Regions from separate parts of the Homo sapiens genome. Here regions 2, 3, 4, 5, 6 and 7 are each linked to region 1. The links are contacts of gene promoters, found by promoter capture Hi-C in blood cells and fetal thymus (Javierre and others, 2016). All regions are on one chromosome and are shown on one strand. The core of a region is centred on a gene start or on the middle of the fragment in contact, and the rest is flanking DNA. Distances in the headings are between cores, read along the strand shown.

The links. The method cuts DNA at HindIII sites, captures the fragments that hold promoters and counts their contacts. A CHiCAGO score of 5 or more calls a contact.
Region 2: a contact is called between a fragment that was not itself captured here and the fragment with the promoter of STARD6 in region 1, in 3 of 17 cell types (naive CD8 T cells, total CD8 T cells and total CD4 T cells). The highest score is 13.7, in naive CD8 T cells.
Region 3: a contact is called between a fragment that was not itself captured here and the fragment with the promoter of STARD6 in region 1, in 1 of 17 cell types (naive CD8 T cells). The highest score is 5.5, in naive CD8 T cells.
Region 4: a contact is called between a fragment that was not itself captured here and the fragment with the promoter of STARD6 in region 1, in 2 of 17 cell types (naive CD8 T cells and activated CD4 T cells). The highest score is 5.8, in naive CD8 T cells.
Region 5: a contact is called between a fragment that was not itself captured here and the fragment with the promoter of STARD6 in region 1, in 2 of 17 cell types (total CD8 T cells and total CD4 T cells). The highest score is 6.8, in total CD8 T cells.
Region 6: a contact is called between a fragment that was not itself captured here and the fragment with the promoter of STARD6 in region 1, in 6 of 17 cell types (naive CD8 T cells, non-activated CD4 T cells, total CD4 T cells and 3 more). The highest score is 19.2, in naive CD8 T cells.
Region 7: a fragment that was not itself captured here is called in contact with the fragment with the promoter of STARD6 in region 1 in 2 of 17 cell types (naive CD8 T cells and non-activated CD4 T cells); the score reaches 7.6 in naive CD8 T cells.

What each region holds. Positions count from the first base shown.
Region 1 is chr18:54,356,417-54,359,286 of GRCh38, forward strand. It overlaps STARD6 (StAR related lipid transfer domain containing 6), which reads right to left and starts at 1,442. Exons shown (of 8, transcript NM_139171.2): 1 at 1,376-1,442; 2 at 1-28. C18orf54 (chromosome 18 open reading frame 54) reads left to right here and starts at 1,490. Exons shown (of 9, transcript NM_001288980.2): 1 at 1,490-1,659; 2 at 2,358-2,454. RefSeq lists enhancers at 1,994-2,505, 2,007-2,076. The HindIII fragment of the contact is 3,120 bases long and covers 305-2,870 here.
Region 2 is chr18:50,872,443-50,875,312 of GRCh38, forward strand. No RefSeq gene overlaps it. Among named protein-coding and RNA genes, the nearest start is that of ME2, 5.2 kb to the right of the region's middle. The HindIII fragment of the contact is 2,517 bases long and covers 193-2,709 here.
Region 3 is chr18:50,892,587-50,895,456 of GRCh38, forward strand. All of the region lies in intron 1 of ME2 (malic enzyme 2), which reads left to right. Among named protein-coding and RNA genes, the nearest start is that of ME2, 15 kb to the left of the region's middle. The HindIII fragment of the contact is 5,661 bases long and covers 1-2,870 here.
Region 4 is chr18:50,973,105-50,975,974 of GRCh38, forward strand. ELAC1 (elaC ribonuclease Z 1) reads left to right here. Exons shown (of 4, transcript NM_018696.3): 2 at 1,293-1,457. The coding sequence starts at 1,301. It also overlaps a transcript of LOC107985152 not described here. Among named protein-coding and RNA genes, the nearest start is that of ELAC1, 6.5 kb to the left of the region's middle. The HindIII fragment of the contact is 1,293 bases long and covers 718-2,010 here.
Region 5 is chr18:51,017,302-51,020,171 of GRCh38, forward strand. The region is part of intron 1 of LOC107985152 (a long non-coding RNA gene); the gene reads right to left. It overlaps LOC124904303 (a long non-coding RNA gene), which reads right to left and starts at 985. Exons shown (of 2, transcript XR_007066372.1): 1 at 1-985. The HindIII fragment of the contact is 8,731 bases long and covers 1-2,870 here.
Region 6 is chr18:51,035,565-51,038,434 of GRCh38, forward strand. The region is part of intron 1 of SMAD4 (SMAD family member 4); the gene reads left to right. Among named protein-coding and RNA genes, the nearest start is that of SMAD4, 6.8 kb to the left of the region's middle. The HindIII fragment of the contact is 9,660 bases long and covers 1-2,870 here.
Region 7 is chr18:51,054,819-51,057,688 of GRCh38, forward strand. It overlaps SMAD4 (SMAD family member 4), which reads left to right. Exons shown (of 12, transcript NM_005359.6): 5 at 1-175. Among named protein-coding and RNA genes, the nearest start is that of SMAD4, 26 kb to the left of the region's middle. The HindIII fragment of the contact is 2,657 bases long and covers 1-2,579 here.

The DNA.
Region 1 (2,870 bases), core at 192-2,691:
CCTTGTGGAAATCTCCATATCTCTTAACCTGTGAGGAAACAAGGCAGAAGTAGAATTATTTTGATCCATGAATTAGGTCAATATATTTGATAATTTTCTTTATATCTTCTCAGTGTCCTTTATCTATACTTTGTCTTCATTAGGAAACATTTGCTACATATATGCCCCAAGATGAAAGAAAAATATAGTACAAAAAACTTTAAAAGATACTGTTTATAAAAAGAATCTTTAAGAAACTATTTTAAAGGAACTCAGTTTAAAAAGACACTTAGGTGGAACGTGGATACAAAAATTTAAGTTTTTAAGCTTACGTCACTAACAATTAACAAGGATTGTTAATCCCCGACCAGGGCTCGTCTTAGCATATAAAACACCGTTCTTGATTTCCTATTGGAAACCTACTTGATATTAATTGATCTAGAGACTTTGAAGATTATTGGGACATACCACTAGCAGGGTATGTCTTATTTTCAAATCACCAACTATTACTGCCACAATAGACCTGTGTTTAACCACTAAACTGAACGTTATAGCTTCCGGACTTTTTCATTTGCTAAGAGAAAAGGGAAGGTAAAATTTAGTAGGCTACAAAGGGTAAAAAGAAGAAAGTGCAAACAGTAAGACTACAATTGTATTACATGGTGGTGGAACGTCGGATGAGCTGGAACATATTCAGATGGACTCATGGTCAAGGATATCTTCACTCATAGGGTCAGTGGAAAATAAACATAAACCAACATTGGGATGGCCTCTTTTTTTGATACACCAATTGGTTGAAACTGGATTCCTTCCAGACTTACAGACAGGTTCACACATGTTAGTGAGTCTTTACATCTGTTTGTACAATGACCCTCTTTCTGAGCTGCCTGACTGGGTCCCCAATCCGTGCGGGGTCACTGCCATTCTTCCCTGGGAATCAAGGCTTCCTAGGAGTTTGTTAAATCCCATCCCTGGCTAAACTCGGGTCTCCAATCTCCCATCTGCTTTGTGTGTGAGAGGCTCCGGGGTGTGAGAGGAAAGGCACTGAAGAGGGAGTGAAAGAAGTGGTGAGGGGGGACTGCCTACTAGCTGAGACGATATCTTATTTTTGGCGGGGGATGCTCTGGAAGCGGGGAGGCTGAACTCACTTGGAAAAACTGGAGCTGTGGGGCAGACTCTCAGCGACCGGAACGACAGCCGCCAGCGCCCTTAAGTCTCCCTCCCCACCCAGTCCCCTCCCGCAGACCCCGGGGCCGGCTGAAGGGAGATCAGCAAGTCCCCGCGCAAACTGGCCGAGAATAGCTGTGACGGAGGTTGGAAGGGCGTGGGGGGCAGCGACTTGGATGCAGCCCACATCCCCCCATTCCCAGCCCCAGAAAGGAGGGAGAAACAGCACCTTCCAGCAGGGGTCGCGACCTAACGCTCAACAGCATCCTCTCTTCTCCGGCCGCTCCCTCATCTCCGCTCGCGCCCGGCGCCCCACTGCCGCGCATGCGCACCGCAGGCCGGCGCCATGTTGGGGCGGTTTGAAAGCGAGCGCGGGTGTCGAGCTCTGCTGTGACTGCGGAGGAAGCTGCGAGTGAGCCGAGCCTGAGGCGGGGCGGTGTCCGGGTTGGGGATGCTTTGTGGTGTCTCGCGTTGGGTAACAGGCCTGAGCTTTCGGCGGAGAGCTGTGGAAGTGTGCGGTTTTTGTTTTTGTTTTCCTTTATTTTTATTTTGGGGCCTTAGGGGTGAGTTAGGACGGAAAGGAGGGTGTCTTTTCGAGGGTTGTCCCATCCTGTGACAGCCGAGAAAAGGCGAAAGGAGAGTGGCGAGGAAAGAGGAGGAGACGTCTCCTGAGGGAGGGCGCTTGTGGAGTCTCTGTGGAAGGAAGAACACTGTAGGGGGAGTGCCCCCTGGGCGAGGGAGGGTCGCGGGACGCGGCGGAGGGGGCTCACACGGGCGTCTGCGGACCTGAGGCGGCGACAGGAAGGGGCTTGCGCTCTGGGGCTGTCGCTTCGGAACACTTCTCCTTCAGTCCATTGCTGCGCTCGCCCTGGCTGCTGAATAAATGGTTTCGGAGTGAAAAGCATCTCACTGAAGAACTTGTCTGTGTCTGTGACTGACGGGCGGTGGAACACCAAAGGGAGGGTGTCGCCTGATTGGGACTGGAAAAATTGGAATTCAGGGCGCCCGGGGTAGGGGAACGATGCGCACTGCTGGAGACGGGCGACCTTCGCTGGCCGGTCGGTGGGTTCCTGGTTTTCTGCTGCCGAGTAAACAAACGTTCCCTTTCCTAACTTAGCAGTCACAGAGCTATTTCCAAGAGTTGTTCTTAATTTCCTGTGCGATATTCCCATTGGCTATTTAACACTGAACATTCTGTTTTTGAATCAAAGTTAGTTAAAATTTGTTGTCAATAAGTTTAACATTCTGTTCTTCCGCGTGATGGATTTTCTTTTGGAGATTCGAACTGAAGCCTGTACGGAGGAAATGGTAAGATATATGGGATTTGCATGAGATATGTGGGGTTCAAAATAATCCTGTGGCTGAAGTGGGGAGAAGTGGGTGGGTCCCTACCCACTTTAGCTACAATTGGGGTCTGTTCAGCGATTGTTGGAAGCAGGATGATGAGTACATAGGGGTTTATTGAACGATTCTACTTTTGTATACTCTTTTGGGGAAAAGTTGGAAAACTTTTCATAATGAAACTTAAATTGTGCATTTTCTTTTTGTCTGTCCTGTGAGTTGAAATAACTAGTAAATGTTATCACCCACTTACGGAGACCAATACAACAGCTTTCTCTTTCAAGGTTTTGTAAAATAAAATCAGTAGCCTGTTCGGCATTCAAAGACAGAAAACATTTGGTCAGGCTTATCCAAACAAATTTACTTGAGTGAGTTTAAACTTC
Region 2 (2,870 bases), core at 201-2,700, 3.5 Mb before region 1:
TTGGTATAAGGTAGGCATCAATTTGTTTAAAGCTCCCTGGTGATTCCAGTGTGCGTTTACATACTATTACACCAGTGTTCACTGAAGAGCTGAGATTAGAATTTGTCCTTGAATTACGAAGCAGTTTTTAATTGACAGCTTACAGCGGGGAAGTCTTTCCCAGGTTGGGGAGTGGGGTGACATAATGCTCCAAGCTTACTTTCAAATCTTTCCAAGACACTGAACTGTACATAAACATATTTTAAAATATTCAGTCTGTACAGTGTAGTTTGTATCCTCTTTCCACTTATTAGTGGTACCCTTGGATGAATCAACCTCTAAGTCCTCAGTTTTCCCATATGTAAAATGGGGATAATAATTATACCTACCAGCTGGGCACAGTGGCTCATGCCTGTAATCTCAGCACTCTGGGAGGTCAAGGTGGGAGAATAGCTTGAGATCAAGAGTTCAGGAGCAGCCTGAACAACATAGCAAGACCTTGTCTCTACTAAAAATAAAAAACATTAGCTGGTTGTGGTGGTACATGCCAGTAGTCCCAGCTACTTGGGAGGCTGAGGCAGGAGGATTGCTTGACCCTGGGAGATCAAGGCTGCAATGAGCTACAATTGGCACTGCACTCCAGCGTGGGTGACAGAGCAATACCCTATCTTGAACAACAACAACGACAAAAACAGGAGTGGCACGGTGGCTCATGCCAGTAATCCCAATACGTTGGGAGGCCAAGATGGGAGGATTCGTTGAGTTCAGGAGTTCAAGACCAGCCTGGGCAACATGGCAAGACCCCAACCCCATCTCTAAAATAAAATAAAGAAAGAAACAGAAATAATTATACCTACTTGATAGCGTTGTTAGGATAATTAAATAATTTTAATATATACATGAGGTGGGCGGGGTACAGTGGCTCATGCCTGCAATCCTAGCACTTTGGGAGGCCAAGGGTGGATCACCTGAGGTCAGGAGTTCAAGACCAGCCTGGCCAACATGGCAAAACCCTGTCTCTACTAAAATTACAATAATTAGCTAGGTGTGGTGTCACACACCTGTAATCCCAGCTACTCAGGAGGATGAGGCAGAAGAATTGCTTGAACCTGGGAGGCAGAGGTTGCAGTGAGCCAAGATCATACCACTGCACTCCAGCCTGGGCAATAGAGCAAGACCCTGTCTCAGAAAAAAAAAAGTAAAAATAAATAAAATACACTAGGTGCCTTAGAGCAACGCTTAGCAAATAGTAAGTACTCAATGAATGGTAATTATTATTTATCAAACATCATCTATATGCCAGGCAGACAGCCTGCATGAGAATACTTTGCATCTGTATCCTTTTAATATTCACAAAACTCTTGCATATTTTGTGTCTCATTCCTCTTTTCAATGCCCTTTGAGATACATAGGGAAAGTTTAATTGTGTCCACCTAACCGGAGAAAAAGACATCCAGCCTCTTATTAAGACAGTGTGAGAGCTAGCCCTAGAATTCAAGTATTCCACACTCCCAAAGTGTGCTTTTTCCTTCGATGTAAATAAGTAAATGAACAAAATAAAACAAAAGCAAAAAGAAAAAATTTGAAGAACTGAGGCATTTGTCCAGATAATTTTCAAACATCCCCTCCATGCCTTCCACTCCCACCCCATAGGAATCCAAACAACCTTCCTTCTATCATTCCCTGATTATCTATAATTGGGGTGTCTAATTTATGGATAACTTATACTCTGCTTGGAGTTATATTTCTTGCTCAGCCATAGTTCTAGTCAAAAATTGTCAGGTTTTATCTTCATTTACTGGAGAGACCCTGCATTTAGAAGAGATTCTTTCCTTCTCTCAAGGATTATCCAGAAAGTGATTGAGCCATGTTTAGCCTTAAATCCTACCCTCACATTTTTGTGAAAAAGCCCATATTTGTATAAATCAACTCTAATTGGGTTTTCTGTTGTTGGGAGCTAAAAATCATTTCTAACAGTTACTGTTAAAATGCACAAAAATCTTGTTCCTGTCGTAATATCTTCATTTATATTTCCTCCTTTAGAATAGCTCATTAACTCTTATTAGGTCAAATTGAGGATGTCAAGTATAAACTACTAGTAGTAGATTAGTAATAATAGTAGTAAGGATAATCATAGTACTGTTTTGATTCTGTGTGCCCTGACCTACTATATATTAGACCTTAACATTCATTTTTAAAAACTCTATACTTGAAAAATAACTACACACTTACATTATTTCTGGAGACCTATGGATGTATATAATTCCCCTTGGTCTTTTAACTGATGAGACATCTTAGTGTCTCACTATAACTATTACTGGATCAAAGTAGCTTTTTTTTTTTGGAGACAGGGTCTCACTCTGTCACCTAGGCTGGAGTGCAGGGATGCGACCTCAGCTCAGTGCAACCTCCGCCTCCTGGGCTCAAGTGATCCTCCCACCTCAGCCTCCCAAGTAGCTAAGACTACAGGCATGCCCCATCAGGCCTGGCTAATTTTTTTTTTTTTTTTTTGTAAAGATGAGGTTTCACCATATTGCCCAGGCTGGTCTCAAACTCCTGTGCTCAAGCAATCCACCCACCTTGGCCTCCTAGAGTGCTGGGATTACAGGAGTGAGCCACCTCACTCAGCCCAAAATAGTATCATTTAAAGATGAAATAGCTCAATTCAAGCAAGAATGCTGGACAGATAGGGGATAAAAGGTAAATGCAAGAAAGCACAGTATTTTTCAAAGCTTAAGATGATCATGCAGAAAATTCACAACCAGTTGCAGAGTAATGACTACTTTATTTAACCCAGGAGTTATATCCGCCAGTGTAATTCTTGCCTGTAGAAACCAGCAGAGGGAAATTTCAGAAGGTTTAGACACTATGTTTCTACTAATGATTACTCA
Region 3 (2,870 bases), core at 247-2,746, 3.5 Mb before region 1:
TGTAAATAGAATCTTTTATCCTATTACATATCTTAACTTATTATTGCTGATATAATCAGCCACTTTGCTGAAGTCTTCTTATTAGTTCTAGTATTTTTTTCAGTTGATTGTCTCAGATTTTCTAGGTGGCAGTTATATCATCTGCAGCTTTAGACCTTCGTTGTAAATGGGCCCAAAATAATGCTGCTTTTTTATTCTAAGAAAAACAATTCAGTGGAGTCATGAAGTGAAAAGTATAGCAAAAAATTACTCTTTAAGGGCAGGTGCAGTGGCTCACGCCTGTAATCCCAACACTTTGGGAGGCCGAGGTGGGCGGATCACAAGGTCAGGAGTTCGAGACCAGCCTGGCCAACATGGTGAAACCCTGTCTCTACTAAAGATACAAAAAATCAGCTGGGTATGGTGGCGCACACCTGTAATCCCAGCTACTCGGGAGGCTGGGGCAGGAGAATCACTTGAAACCGGGAGGCAGAGGTTGTAGCGAGCCAAGATCGTGCCATTGCACTCCAGCCTGGGCAACTGGGTAAGACTCTATCTCAAAAAAAAAAAAAAAAAAAAAAAAAAAACACCTTTAAATTTGCTTCAATACTTATTATAAAATAATAAGCATAAATATACAGAATAATAGTAATAAAGAGTGTATATGCAAAATTGTAATTTTATGGTATTTTGAACTTAAAGCATCAAGATGGTAGCATAAATTAATTTCTAAAAAGAAACCTGAACACTTACTTTTCATCATGGTTATTTCTGCTACACTATTACGGCTATGATAAAAATCCAGCAATGAAAAAGGATGAGGATAATGATGTAGCACCTGCTTAATGAATAAGACCATTCAGATGAGCAAAATACATAATTTCAATATGTTGTGTTACCTTTCCCCTGAAAAGGCCATCAGGAATTTGTTAGAGTTTGATGCCTCCCCAGTAGTTAGCCTTGGTAACTGAGGAAGTAATTGGCTTGTGTTTGACTCAAAAAGTTTGTGTAGGCTCAGCTACTGGTTATTTTTCTGTCTTACTGTCTTTTGAACAGCTCAGATATTTCTTAAAAGGGTCTCAAATCTCCTACGTGTGATTTTGTAGTTTTGTTCTACTGACAGAACATATTCAGAAATTAAATCATTTTTTTAACAATACATTGAAGATTTTCTACTGCTGCCTTTTCCTCTTACTCTTTCTGCTCTTCCCATTTTCTACATTCTTTGTCAGTGTTTTCTTAAGGCCCACAATTAATTCTTAAATTTCTTCTTTGAAGCTGTGAACAAAACCATCCCTACTATCTTGGCCTGGCTACCTGTACAGTGTTTTCCACTTTTTTGACAAAGAACAGGAAACCTTTTAAATCATTCAGACATTCTTTTCATTTATGTCCTTCATGCTTTAATTATTTACAGTTTAATTACATCTATGACTATTTAATATGAGTGAAACATTCTTGGCAATGTTGAAGGTCTTCTAACCCTGACTGCGTCATATTTAATATCAGGCTTACCATCCATACATGGATGTGTTGATGAAACTCTAAGCCTCATACAAGTGGTCTTGAAACATCAAATCACACTTGATTTCAAAGGTTGATGGATGGAAGTGGTATGGGAGGCAGAAAACAACTTCAGCAAAGTTACTTGCAAACTGGAGTGTTTCAGTGTCCAGGAATAAATGATCAAGCAACACATTTAAAACATCCCTTTTTGGCCGGGCGCGGTGGCCCACGCCTGTAATCTCAGCACTTTGGGAGGCCGAGGCAGGTGGATCACCTGAGGTCAGGAGTTCAAGACCAGCCTGGCCAACATGGTGAAACCCTGTCTCTACAAAAATACAGAAAAAAAATTAGCTGGGCATGATGGCGGGTTCCTGTAATCCCAGCTACTCAGAAGGCTAAGGCAGGAGAATAGCTTGAATCCGGGAGGCAGAGGTTGCAGTGAGCCGTGATCGCGCCGTTGCACTCCAGCCTGGGTGACAGAAAGAGACTCCATCTCAAAAAAAAAAATCCCTATTTTGGCCGGGAACGGTGGCTCACGCCTGTAATCCCAGCACTTTGGGAGGCCGAGGCAGGCAGATCACAAGGTCAGGAGATCGAGACCATCCTGGACAACACAGTGAAACCCCTTATATACTAAAAATAAAAATACAAAAAAATTAGCTGGGCGTGGTGGCGGGCGCCTGTAGTCCCAGCTACTCGGGAGGCTGAGGCAGGAGAATGGCGTGAACCCGGGAGGTGGAGCTTGCAGTGAGCTGAGATCATGCCACTGCACTCCAGCCTGGGCAACAGAGCGAGACTCCATCTCAAAAAAAAAAAAAAAATTTTTTTGAAATGCCTCTGAATTGTTCAGTTTAAAATGGTTACTTTTATGATATATGAGCTTCAAAAAAAAAAAAAATCCTTATGTAAATGGTTTTGCTGCCCCTTCACACATATCATGGATTTCTCCACAAATAGAAATCCATTTTAAAAAACTTCACAGCATAATAATTACAATGATTTGTAATGTTTAAAGAAATAAATAAGCATTTCAAATTCTGATTTTTGGTGAGATAATTGGTAAGTAGAAGACTATTATCACTAAATATTTTAGATTTAATGTATAGTTTTCTCTTTAAAAATGTCCATGTTTATGATGGATGCAATTATTTTATACATTATTTTATATAAAGTAATTACAATTACTTTATATGTTTTCTAGCCAATTTATATGATTTGTTTATATTAAATAACAGGTTTTCTAAGACAAAAAATTCTAGTACGTTAAATTTAAACATTAAACATAGTCCATTAAAATTCTAGGTCTAGATTAAGAATCAGGATAGTTTTTCTTCCTCTGTGTCTCTGCTTTCTTATTATTTACTTTTCCACCTTCAAGCTAAACT
Region 4 (2,870 bases), core at 114-2,613, 3.4 Mb before region 1:
TTGTTTTTGCTCTTAGAATGGGTTTTTCCCCCATTTCTGTTTTTATCTTGTTATTGCTAAGACTGAGAAGAGTTACTGAAGTTTTTGTATATTTTATATCTAGCTGTCAGTCAAATTCTCTTACAGTAGTTTTTCTTAAGCTTCTTTGTTTTCTTCCCTGCCATCAATGTGGATAATCTATAATCAGTTATGTATAAATTTCAGTTCATTCTAATATATTCTGTTTGATACATATATTCCATCTCAGAAGTATATCAGTGATGTCAGATGTACCTAGAAATAGTGAAAGGAATAGTGCCAGGAGTTGGAATAAACCTGCACATTCAACAGGTTGTTGCTGATCACTTAAAATAGCAGAGTCCCAAGTCCTCGTGAGTCATGGACCATGTCATGTAGGGAGTGAGACATTTGTTCAGCATTATTGTGAAATATCAGCATGACTATAGAGCATAATAGAGCATTACTGTTATGATTGTTCAGAGAAAGGGAAAGGGCTGATCATTATGGGCATCAGAGACACCATATGGTGAGTATCATTAAATACCATCTCTTGCCCTGTATCTCAACTAGAGTTGTTGTTGTTTAGTGTTTATTAGAAGGATTTTTTTTAAAAAAATTAGTAAGTAGAAAGTACAGAGTGTTCCCATATACTCTCTTATCCCTCACCCCTCAGTTTCCCCTTATTAACATCTTGCATTAATGCGGTATATGTTCAGAAGCTTAAGGGCTCATGAAAAAAAAATGAAAAATGTGCTACATGTGTTACAGTTGTTGAGCCAATATTGATACAGATACACTGTCAACTAAAGTTTACATTAGAGCTCATTCACTCTAGTGGTGTTTATTCTGTGTACAGTTGACCAATGTATAATGACATATGTCTGTCTTACTGTATCATACAGAATCGTTTCACTGCCTTAAACATCCCCTGTGCTCTGCCTGTTCATTCTTCCTTCTCTCACCCTGTATCACTAGCAAGCACGATTTTTACTGTCTCCATAGTTTTGCCTTTTTGAGAACATCATATAGTTAGAATTCAGCTATAGTTTTTAATTGCCTGGGTTTGGTTATTTTTGTTTGTTTGGGTGTGTGAACAATTATACAAGATTTGTTAACTTGTAGTTTTAGCCAAGTTATTAAAACCTTACTGTGGATATGTGTGGAATACTATGAGAGACCAAGAATCCAGACTGTTCTAAATAACCAAAAAGTAATAATAGAGATAAATATTACAGGAATATGTTTTTGGTACAGTGATATGAAATAATCCCCAGATGATCTTTCTGTTGCAGGGTGGAAGATGTCTATGGATGTGACATTCCTGGGGACGGGTGCAGCATACCCATCTCCAACCCGGGGTGCCTCTGCTGTGGTCCTTCGGTGTGAAGGCGAGTGCTGGCTCTTTGACTGTGGGGAGGGAACACAGACACAGCTTATGAAAAGCCAACTTAAAGCAGGTTAGTGTGCCTTCAGCTATCTCATTAAGATTTTTTTGTTGTTCTGCTTCATTTTCTTGGCTCTCCTTGGACATTTTGTTTAGAAACAGCCCTGATGGTTGCATCCCACTTCAGTGCTACACCCTGGTGAGACTTGGAAGGCCTGCAGGCATCTGGCCACGTCCACTGAACTTCATTTACTTATTTACTTGCTTTTCATTTATCCTGTAGATGCTGAAAGCAAGGATTCATGTAGGCTTGGGGTTTGGGAAATGTCGTGGGATACACCAGGCATATTAGATGAACACTGCCTTAGCAAGGAAGCAGTGTACATACTTACCTCCACCAGGAGATAGTTTTCATGAGAGGATGCAAAGGGTAGGAAATGTTTGGAGGAGGGAGATGTTGTTTTCCTCTTGGGGTTATCAGGGTAAACTTCTCAGAGAAGTTGACCTGTGGATTGTCAAAGGAGGAGGAGGAATTTCAGGGCTGAGGAGAAGAAGGGCATTTCAATCAGGGGGAATGGAGTGAGCAGAGGCCAGCACCTGGGAGATAGAGCAGTCCAGTGGTGAAAAGCTTCAGCTCAGAGTCAGGCAGACCTGGGTTCTAGTCCTGGCTGTGTCTTGGGCCTGTGACCTTAGCATATCAGCAAACTTCAACTTTACTTTCCCGATCTTGAAAATGGGGATAAAAAGTCTACTTAGAAAGGGTGTTATGAGAATTACATGTAATCATTTATTCTCTGTGTGATTGCCTCTTTCTCAGTTAAATCTTAGCTCAGATGCCATCTTCTCAGAGGCTTTCCCAAATCCTCCTGGATTAAGTAGTTCCTCTCTCACCCCAGTCATTCCTTTACTTTGTCCTATTTTTATTGACTTCTTAGCATCATCAGTATCTGAAATTATGTTATTTAGTTTGTTTCTGTGTTCTTTATCTCCCTATACTGTAAAGTACGTTCCATGATCATTTATATACCTAGTAGATGCCTAGTTATATCTGTTCAACTAGGCATCTACTAAGTATATAAATGATCATGGAACTTACTTTAGTGAATGGATAAGACGTTTAGCAACTTAGCACAGTGCCTCTCACTTATTAGGTCTTGATAAATAGTATTGAAGTCATTATTCCTACAACTCTTCACAGTACCTGGCACTTGGTGACTAAAGGAAAGATACTTCTAGTGTTCAGGGATCTCTTGGTCCAGTGATGGAAACTGACATGCAAACGGACAGTAATCAATCATGTAATGTGATAAGTAGAATAATGGAAGTATTTTCTAAGTACTTTGGAGCACAAAGGAGGGGGAAGTAACTGACCATTCATTCATTAATAGAAGGCATCCCAGAGATTGTTAACAGTTGAGCTAGGATCCAAGAGATTCATAGAAGTTTTTCTGAGAGAGAGGTAGAGATGGACATTGAGGGAACAGAC
Region 5 (2,870 bases), core at 100-2,599, 3.3 Mb before region 1:
CCTGGGCCTTTGTTTCAAACCTACCAACAAAGAACACTCTCTGGGGAGCTTTTGTGGACTGTGGTTAGGCCTGCAGTCAGGACCCGCATTCTAACTAACCAGTGTAGCCTCTGGCAAGTGCAGAGCCACTTTGCAGCTCCCTGGCAATGGAGATGATCTGTGTACTGGGGAAGGCAGCTGGGCCCAGAGGGGCTTTTGAACCACAGCATTTTTCTTAAAGATGGGGGATGTTATTGTTGAACCAGGTAGGAGGTGACCTGGGAACCAGCCTCCCTGAAAAGGAGGAGGGAGGGAAACACCTATGCCCAGGGTTATGTGGTGCTATTTCCTTCCTGATTAAAGATGTAGATGCCTTGGTACCCGAGCCCTGGAGGAGGCTCCCTCAACCTGAGAAAGCACTGTGCTGCAGCTCATCCTGGGAGCCGGCTCCCCTGGGTGGTACAGCACAGAGGGAAGGAAGGGGGCCGCAGTTCAAGGGCAGCAGCTGGGAGAAGCATGTCAGAAGTGCCAGGGAAGCAAAAGTCGGCTAGGGAAAGGAAAGGGGAGGAAGGAAAAGCAGAGAGGCAGCAGCAGCTCTGGGAGAAAGGGACAGCAGACATTAGAGGGGCGAGTGTTCTGGGAGCCTCAGAGCAGTGATGGATTTTCCATCTTTCCTTGGAGGAGGGGCTGGGTCTTGGAATCCCCTCCCTTCTCTGCCCCTTACACACAGTTTGTCCTGAGGAGCAGACATGAGGTCTGTGCTCACCCAAGCGCTCACAGTCTCCTTCTCTCTTCAATACCCATCTGCTGGGCCTAATTCTTACCTCAAAAAGGTAACTCTTGATTATTCTTAAAAGTTTAAAAAAAAATAGTAACTGTGATTCTGGTCTAAGCTAAAATTATTTTTCCTCAAGGTTGTCTCCCAAGAAAAATGCTTAAAGAGGCCGGGCACGGTGGCTCATGCCTGTAATCCCAGCACTTTGGGAGGCCGAGGTGGGCGGATCACCTGAGGTCAGGAGTTCAAGACCAGCCTGGCCAACACGGTGAAACCCCATCTCTACTAAAAAATACAAAAATTAGCCAGGTGTGGTGGTGAGCACCTGTAATCCCAAGTACTCAAGAGGCTGAGGGAGGAGAATTGCTTGAACTTGGGAGGTGGAGGTTGCAATGAGCCGAGATCATGTCATTGCACTCCAGCCTGAGTGACAGAGTGAGACTCCCTCTCAAAAAAAAATAAATAAATAAATAAGAAAAATGCTTAAAGAATATGGAAATAATTTGGTGGTGTTTAGGTAGATTGTTTTCCTCCTCAGAGTTGAAAGTAACACAGATATTCATTAACTTTTATCACTGAAATGACACCATAGCACTGTAGCCCAGGCTGGAGTGCAATGGTGCAATCTCAGCTCAGTGCAACCTCCACCTCCCTGGCTCGAGCGCTTCTCCTGCCTCCACCTTCTGAGTAGCTGGGATTACAGGCACATACCACCATGCCTGGCTAATTTTTGTATTTTAGCAGAGACGAGGTTTTGCCATGTTGGCCAGGCCAGTCTCAAACTCTTGACCTCAAATGGTTTGCCTCGGCCTCCCAAAGTACTGGGATTACAGGCGTGAGCCACCGTGCCTGGCAGGTTTGTTTTGGATGAACTTGTCATTTCCAGCACTCCCTGCTTGTGATGTTCTCTCTTGTACCTGTGACACTGAGGAAAACCGTTAGATGCCAAGTTCACCTGAGGGACTAAAATCTGTCTAGATGTAAGTCTGATCTGGCGTCTACTGGGGGAAGGGAAAGACTGGATAAACTGTGTTTCAGTTCATATCCATTGCCATTCAATTCTGCATTCTAAGATATGGCAACCAGTAGGCTCACTCTACATGTTTATTCAACGGAAACGATGTCCGAAAATTTAACTTTCATCACAAAGCATTTTAGGTGGGTAGAATCATGACTGTGAACTGTCTCCTAAATAATTTAGTGTTCCATTATTCCCCTCCCCAGTACATTTTAGATTTAGGTCCTACACAGTTCTAGACCCTGGATTCTAGGGCTTTGCCTCTGGAACCAGCGGTATTGGCCTCACTTGAGAGCTTATTAGAAATGAAGAGTCTCCAGCCCACCCTCAAATCCAAGGAATCAGGATTTACTTTTTAACATGCTCCCCAAGTGATCTGTGTGCATGTTAAAGTAGGAGAAATGCTGCTCTGAGGCATCTGATCAGCAGGCCCTCCCAGGCCCTGGCTTCAGGGTAGAGCTATTTGGGTTGCAGATAGCACCATGCCACACTCTGTGGGCAGAGAGTTCAAATTCCAGCTCTGCTGTGAACCTCATCACAGGGACAAGTGACCTAAAATTAAAAAAAAAAAAAATCAAACTCACAGAAAAGTCGCAAGAATAGTACAAAGGGCCGGGCATGGTGGCTCATGCCTGTAATCCCAACACTTTGGGAGGCCGAGATGGGTGGATCACGAGGTCAGGAGTTCAAGACCAGCCTGGCCAACATGGTGAAACCCTGTCTCTACTCAAAATAAAAAAAATTAGCTGGGCGTGGCGGCACACACCTGTAATCCCAGCTACTTGGGAGACTGAGGCAGGACAATGGCTTGAACCCGGGAGGCGGAGGTTGTGGTGAGCCGAGATCGTGCCACTGCACTCCAGCCTGGGTGACAGACCGAGACTCCATCTCAAAAAAAAAAAAAAAAAAAAGAATAGTACAAAGAACTTCTGTAAATACTTTACCTAGACTCACCAACTATTAACATTTTGCAGTGTATACTTTATCATTTTTTTCGCTCTACCTATGTATGATGATTATTCCTGAATTCTTGGAGAGTTAATTGCATATACTGGCATGTCTTTACCCTCAATACTTCAGTGTGTAGCTCTGAAAACA
Region 6 (2,870 bases), core at 181-2,680, 3.3 Mb before region 1:
GGGCGTTAATCTACTTGGTAAACCTTACATTTTCAAGCCCCCAATTAACTAGTCACTTAACTGGTTTCTGAGAGGCAGGTTGCATTGGGCTTTTTCTGTCAGGGCTTAATTAATACACTGTGAGACATTTGCTCAGCTAGGCCAGCTAGCTAGTACTTCTGTAGAGATCATCTAGGGCATGTTCAGCTCTCCATTTACATCACCTGAAGTAGTTCCCAAGTGCTGGGCTATGGAGTAGTTTCATCTCTGTCTCTGGAAGAGCTATTTAAAAAAATAAAAATATTTTTTCCCATCTGATTGCAACACACATGCTGCTTCAGAATGGGAATGGAGTGGAGGAGGCATGGGAATCTGTGTTATTTTTAAAAAGTGCCTCTTGATTCTAAAGGTTTTGTTTATTTTGGTATGCTTATCCTTACTGCTTTATTTATCTATTTTTTAGAGACAGGTTGCCCAGGATGGAGTGCAGTAACATCATCATAGCCCTCTATAACCTTCAACTTCTGGGTTCAAGAGATCTTGCCTCAGCCTCCAGAGTAGCTAGGACTACAGGCCGGCACCACCACGCCTGGCTGATTTTTTTAAAACTGTTTTGTAGAAATGGGGGGGCGGGGGTCTTGCTTTGTTGCCCAGGCTAGCCAAATCTTATTTATGATTTAAAACTAGGAATGCTACCGAATATATATTTTTATAGTAAGGTATTATTTCTGTATGTTAATATGGATGAATGTATGCTACTCAGGTCTTTTCAAGTCAAAATGTATTTCTAAATATAAGATGAATTAAGGATATTTGTCAGTGATATTCACTAGTGAATTCTAGAGCATATGTTATCAGTAGATGGGCAGTCCTTGTAAAAATTGAATAATCTAGTGAAAGGATGACCGGAAATAATATTTAATGGGGTAAGCTAAGCCAGGAATCATTGTACATAAACACATTAGGTGTGTCTTACATCATAAATATGCCTACTAAAACTAGTTGAAGGAAGAATGTGTATAGATGCTGAAATAATGAAGGGGCTGGCTAATTGTAAGGAAAAATGATACAACTTCTATATAATTAGTCTTTTTAATCAGTTGCATATACTCATGATACTTAATTTGTAAAGTAAAGATTGTAGACTAGATCAATGCTTTGTAAAACTAACAGTACCTCAGACTTCCAGAGTGTTTTTTAAAGGTACAGCCCCACCCTTGATTCTAGTTAGTGGAGCTGGCCTAACCTGCGGGGGATTTTGATACATCCCCCTTTGAAGGAATAAGCTAGATGACTTGAAACTCTGCTTCAGTTAAAAGTTTTATGAAATGAGGCCGGGTGCGGTGACTCACGCCTGTAATCTCAGCACTTTGGGAGGCCAAGGGGGGTGCGGATTACCTGAGGTCAGGAGTTTGAGACCAGCCTGACCAACATGGTGAAACCCCGTCTCTACTAAAAATACAAAAATTCATTGGGCATGGTGGCACATGCCTGTAATCCCAGCTACTCACATGCCTGTAATCCCAGCTTCTTGGGAGGCTGAGGCAAGAGAATTGCTTGAGCCTGGGAGACAGAGGTTGCAGTGAGCTGAGATTGTGCCACTGCACTCCAGCCTAGCTGACAGAGCGAGACTGTCTCAAAAAAACAAAAAAAGTTTTATAAAATGTATTTTTCAGTTATCAGTTATTAAAATTCAGTTTGGTTTCCACCATCTTTTAAAACAGTGGTTCCCAAAGTATGGTCCACAGACTCCTGGAGATCCCTAGGATCCTTATATTTAAGGGGTTCACAAAATCAAAATTATTTTCATAATGAAACTGAGACGTTATTTGCCCTTTCACTGTGAGGACATTTGTATGGGTGGTGAAGGAGCAGTGGTGGGTAAACTGCTGGCACTTTAAAATGACTCTAGGCAGTTATACCAAACATATGAGTCCTCATTGTGTTCTTTATAGTCAAACACACATAAGCATTTGAAAAAATGCCGGTTTCACTTAATAATCCCCTTGCTGCAGCAGTAAAAAGGTTTAATTTTAAAAAAATCTCTACCTTGGAGTATGTCTTTTTAATAGTGTGATTAAATGGGAAGTATGCATAAAGCATTTCTGCACATTGAAGTACAGTGTTCTTTTCTAGGAAAAGCACTTGTGTTATTGAGCTGCAAGCTGAACTAGCTGCTTTTTAGTGGGACACCATTTTTATTTTTATTTAACAGGATGACAGATAAGCTCAGATAGCTATTTAGATTTGAGTATTTGGCAGGTAATTCCTTGGAAATGAATAAAGTGAGCTGGCCACTTCGAGGAGAACATTTATAGCCAGTGCTAAAATCTGATGTTTCAAGTGAAAATCAGATTTTTGGGAAACTCCTGTCACTATGACTTGCCAGTTTCTTAATACTTAAAGACTTTTCTGATGAGATGGGTGGTGATATTAAGGAATGTGATTAAAAAAAATATGTTGGGCTGGGCACGATGATGCACACCCATATTTCTAGCACTGTGGGAGGCGGAGGTGGGAGAATTGCTTTTGGCCAAGAGTTCGAGACCCTGTTTCTACAATAACATATAAAAATTAGGTGTAGTGGCATGTAGTTCTAGCTGCTCAGGAGGGTGAGGTGAGAAGATTGCTTCAGCCAGGGAGTTCAAGGCTGGATTAAGCTAGGATCGCACCACTGCACTCGGGCCTAGGCTACAGAGCGAGACTGTGGGGGGGGGGGCAGTATGAGGAAGTGTGTCAACACTGGGAAGATCTGTGTAACTCATTGAACCAATATTTTCCCAAATGACCAATTCATGTTACAAAATCGTGCATGGGTAGGCGATCCGTTCAAAGTACAACATAGACAAATGGATTTTTATATACACCAGAGCCAAAAAGTTCACTGATAC
Region 7 (2,870 bases), core at 1-2,500, 3.3 Mb before region 1:
GACTTTGAGGGACAGCCATCGTTGTCCACTGAAGGACATTCAATTCAAACCATCCAGCATCCACCAAGTAATCGTGCATCGACAGAGACATACAGCACCCCAGCTCTGTTAGCCCCATCTGAGTCTAATGCTACCAGCACTGCCAACTTTCCCAACATTCCTGTGGCTTCCACAAGTGAGTTCTAGAATCAGATGTAGTCAGCAAGTTGAGTTTTCCTAATCATTGCTTATTTATGTGTAGTCACTTGGGGGGAAACTCCAAGTAAGTAAACATTAAAAGTAACTGTAGTATCTTTCATAGGTAAACAGGTATTAAACAGGTATGCACAATCACTTGGAATTTAAGTAATGGCTTTGATTATAATATTGATTTAAATTAATGATCTGATTTATACTTTACTATTACATGTAGCAGTAAGTAGCCTCTTAAGCTCCCAGATATATTTTGGAGAAATATTTAAATAATTAACAAGTAGTTTTGATCCAAGATGTTTATGAAGGTCTGTGTTAATGGAATTGCAACCTTTCTTTTAATGCGGTGTTCTTATTTTGGTTTTTCTGGGACAATATTACCTTATAGTAGTTGTCTGATTTTCTCACTGTGCAAAGGGATCTTGACAAATTTGTTATATATTGCTCAAGATAGACATTAATTAAGTCAATTTTGATATAAGCTAACTTCTATATCTCTTTTTAAAATATATGTGTAATTAAAAAAAAAAAGTGTTTCAGAAAGATCCTTCTTTTCTGCCATGTCATAGGAGGGAGAGGGGCTGCTAGGTTCAGGTTTTTGGGGGCATGATCATATGACCTGGTTCTGTTACTTATTTTCACAGTAACCAAAGGTTTGATAGTTTGCTGCTTGGCAAATGAAGTAGCTTTTTTTTCATTTTTTTTTTTTCAATTAATCATAGAGCATTGTCTTGGCATGTGTATGGTGTTAGTTGCATGCAGTTGCTAAAGGAATTTATGTAAACCCACATCAGAATAGATTTTTGACAGCTCTGGGCTAATACTGTGTTAGTTGCTACCGAAAGTACCATTATTGTATTTGCTTTACTATCAGATTAGATTCAACATAGAAATTTTGATCTTTGGAATAAATGGGGGACTGATTTCTGTAATTGTGAGTTTTCAAGTGAAGTATACCAGAATTTCCCCTTTAATTCATTACACCACTTCAAAGCAACATGTTTTTGGTTTGCTATCTAAGAGATGACAGTCTCACTATAGGCAGCATATTCTAAATGGGTCATATAGGTTAAGCACTTGAGAACCCAGTTCCTTAATCACTTGGTGCTTCTATTATCTGTCTACTTTTTATTTACCAAATTAGGAATATGGTTGACAAACAGTGGGTAGTGATAGAAAATAAAAGAAGGTACATTATAGCCACTTGAACGTAGATTAGTGCTAGAGCACAGCTACCTACTTCTGTTTATATTATCTGGAGATTGAATTTCTGTGCCTTTGTCAATGCTTACTAAAGTGACTTCATTTTGACTGTGTTGTTTCCTGAGGTTGAATCCTATTCAAAGATTAGAAAAAGTGATAGAAATGAAATGCAGCTAATTTTATCCTGGTATTTATTGGGTAGATTTTAATAATCGAATACCGTAAATACTGTAAGTTTTAGAACTTGTGTCAAAATGTTCCCTTATGTGGTGGCATGCGCCTGTAGTCCCAGCTGCTCCGGGGGCTGAGGCAGGAGAAATGGCGTGAACCCGGGAGGCGGAGCTTGCAGTGAGCAGAGAGCGAGTCACTGCACTCCAGCCTGGGCGACACAGCGAGACTCCATCTCCAAAAAAAAAAAAAAAAAAAAAAAAGAGGGTTCCCTTAGGTCTCAAAAAGTATATTGATGAAAAGAAGTTGAACTAAAATAGAAGATTTGAAAGGCTATTTTACGTGAGCTGATTTAGTCGTATTGTTTAACTTTATTTTACATACTTAGAATTGTATAAGGGAAGTATTCAGTATGGATAACTACAGTGAGTCACTTTACAATTTATGTTCTTTTGACACCTGAATATTTTAAGAATTTCCTTTTAAATACCTGTAAATTAAAATAATTTATCCTGTGTAGTTAATGACAATTTTTGTAAGTTAGCTAAGAGTATTGCCTGTAGAATTGTTAAAAATATGAACAAAACCATAATTAACCTTTAAAGATAACTTGCAGAATCTGGGGGATGAGTAGGAAGGGAGGTTGCTAAAATGTCATTTTTACAGATAAATAATTTGGGGAGTATTGAAATATTCTCTTTAGCTTTTGGTTTTGTAATTCTTAGCTTTAAGGAAATGTGATATGTAAAGAAAAGAAAAATATTCCTTTTCTTTGATACTTTGAGCAATGGTGACATGTTACTCTCTTCCATCTGATTATACTCCCATTTAGAAAAGAATGAGGTGATGCCAGTTATAAATAATTATAACTTTAGTGCTTTCCAAATAGGATTAACAGTCGAGTTAATTAATGCTCTTTAAGAAACCAAATTTCCACTTTAAAAAAAAAGCCTTAAAAATGTAGGACAGTAAGCAATATCATAGGATGGTTTTTGAATAGAATACAAGCCAAGAGAAGCTTGATTCTCTTGGTATATTACATACAGAGAGGGCAATTAATTTCTTGTACATCTGGGAATATGATGGTGTTCTTGAAAAGAAATGATTCTTGGTTTATAAAAGCTCTTGAAAAAATTTGAAAGTAGACTGATAGTTTTTTTGTTTGTTTTTAACCAGTAAATGGTATATTGATTGGACAGCAGAGCTAGATCTTTTTAACTTCCTCATCTTCACTATCACATCCTATTTAAAATAATTTTCTGCTCTGCTTTTCTCTGTCAAACCCTAGCATTCTGCCATTACTAGTA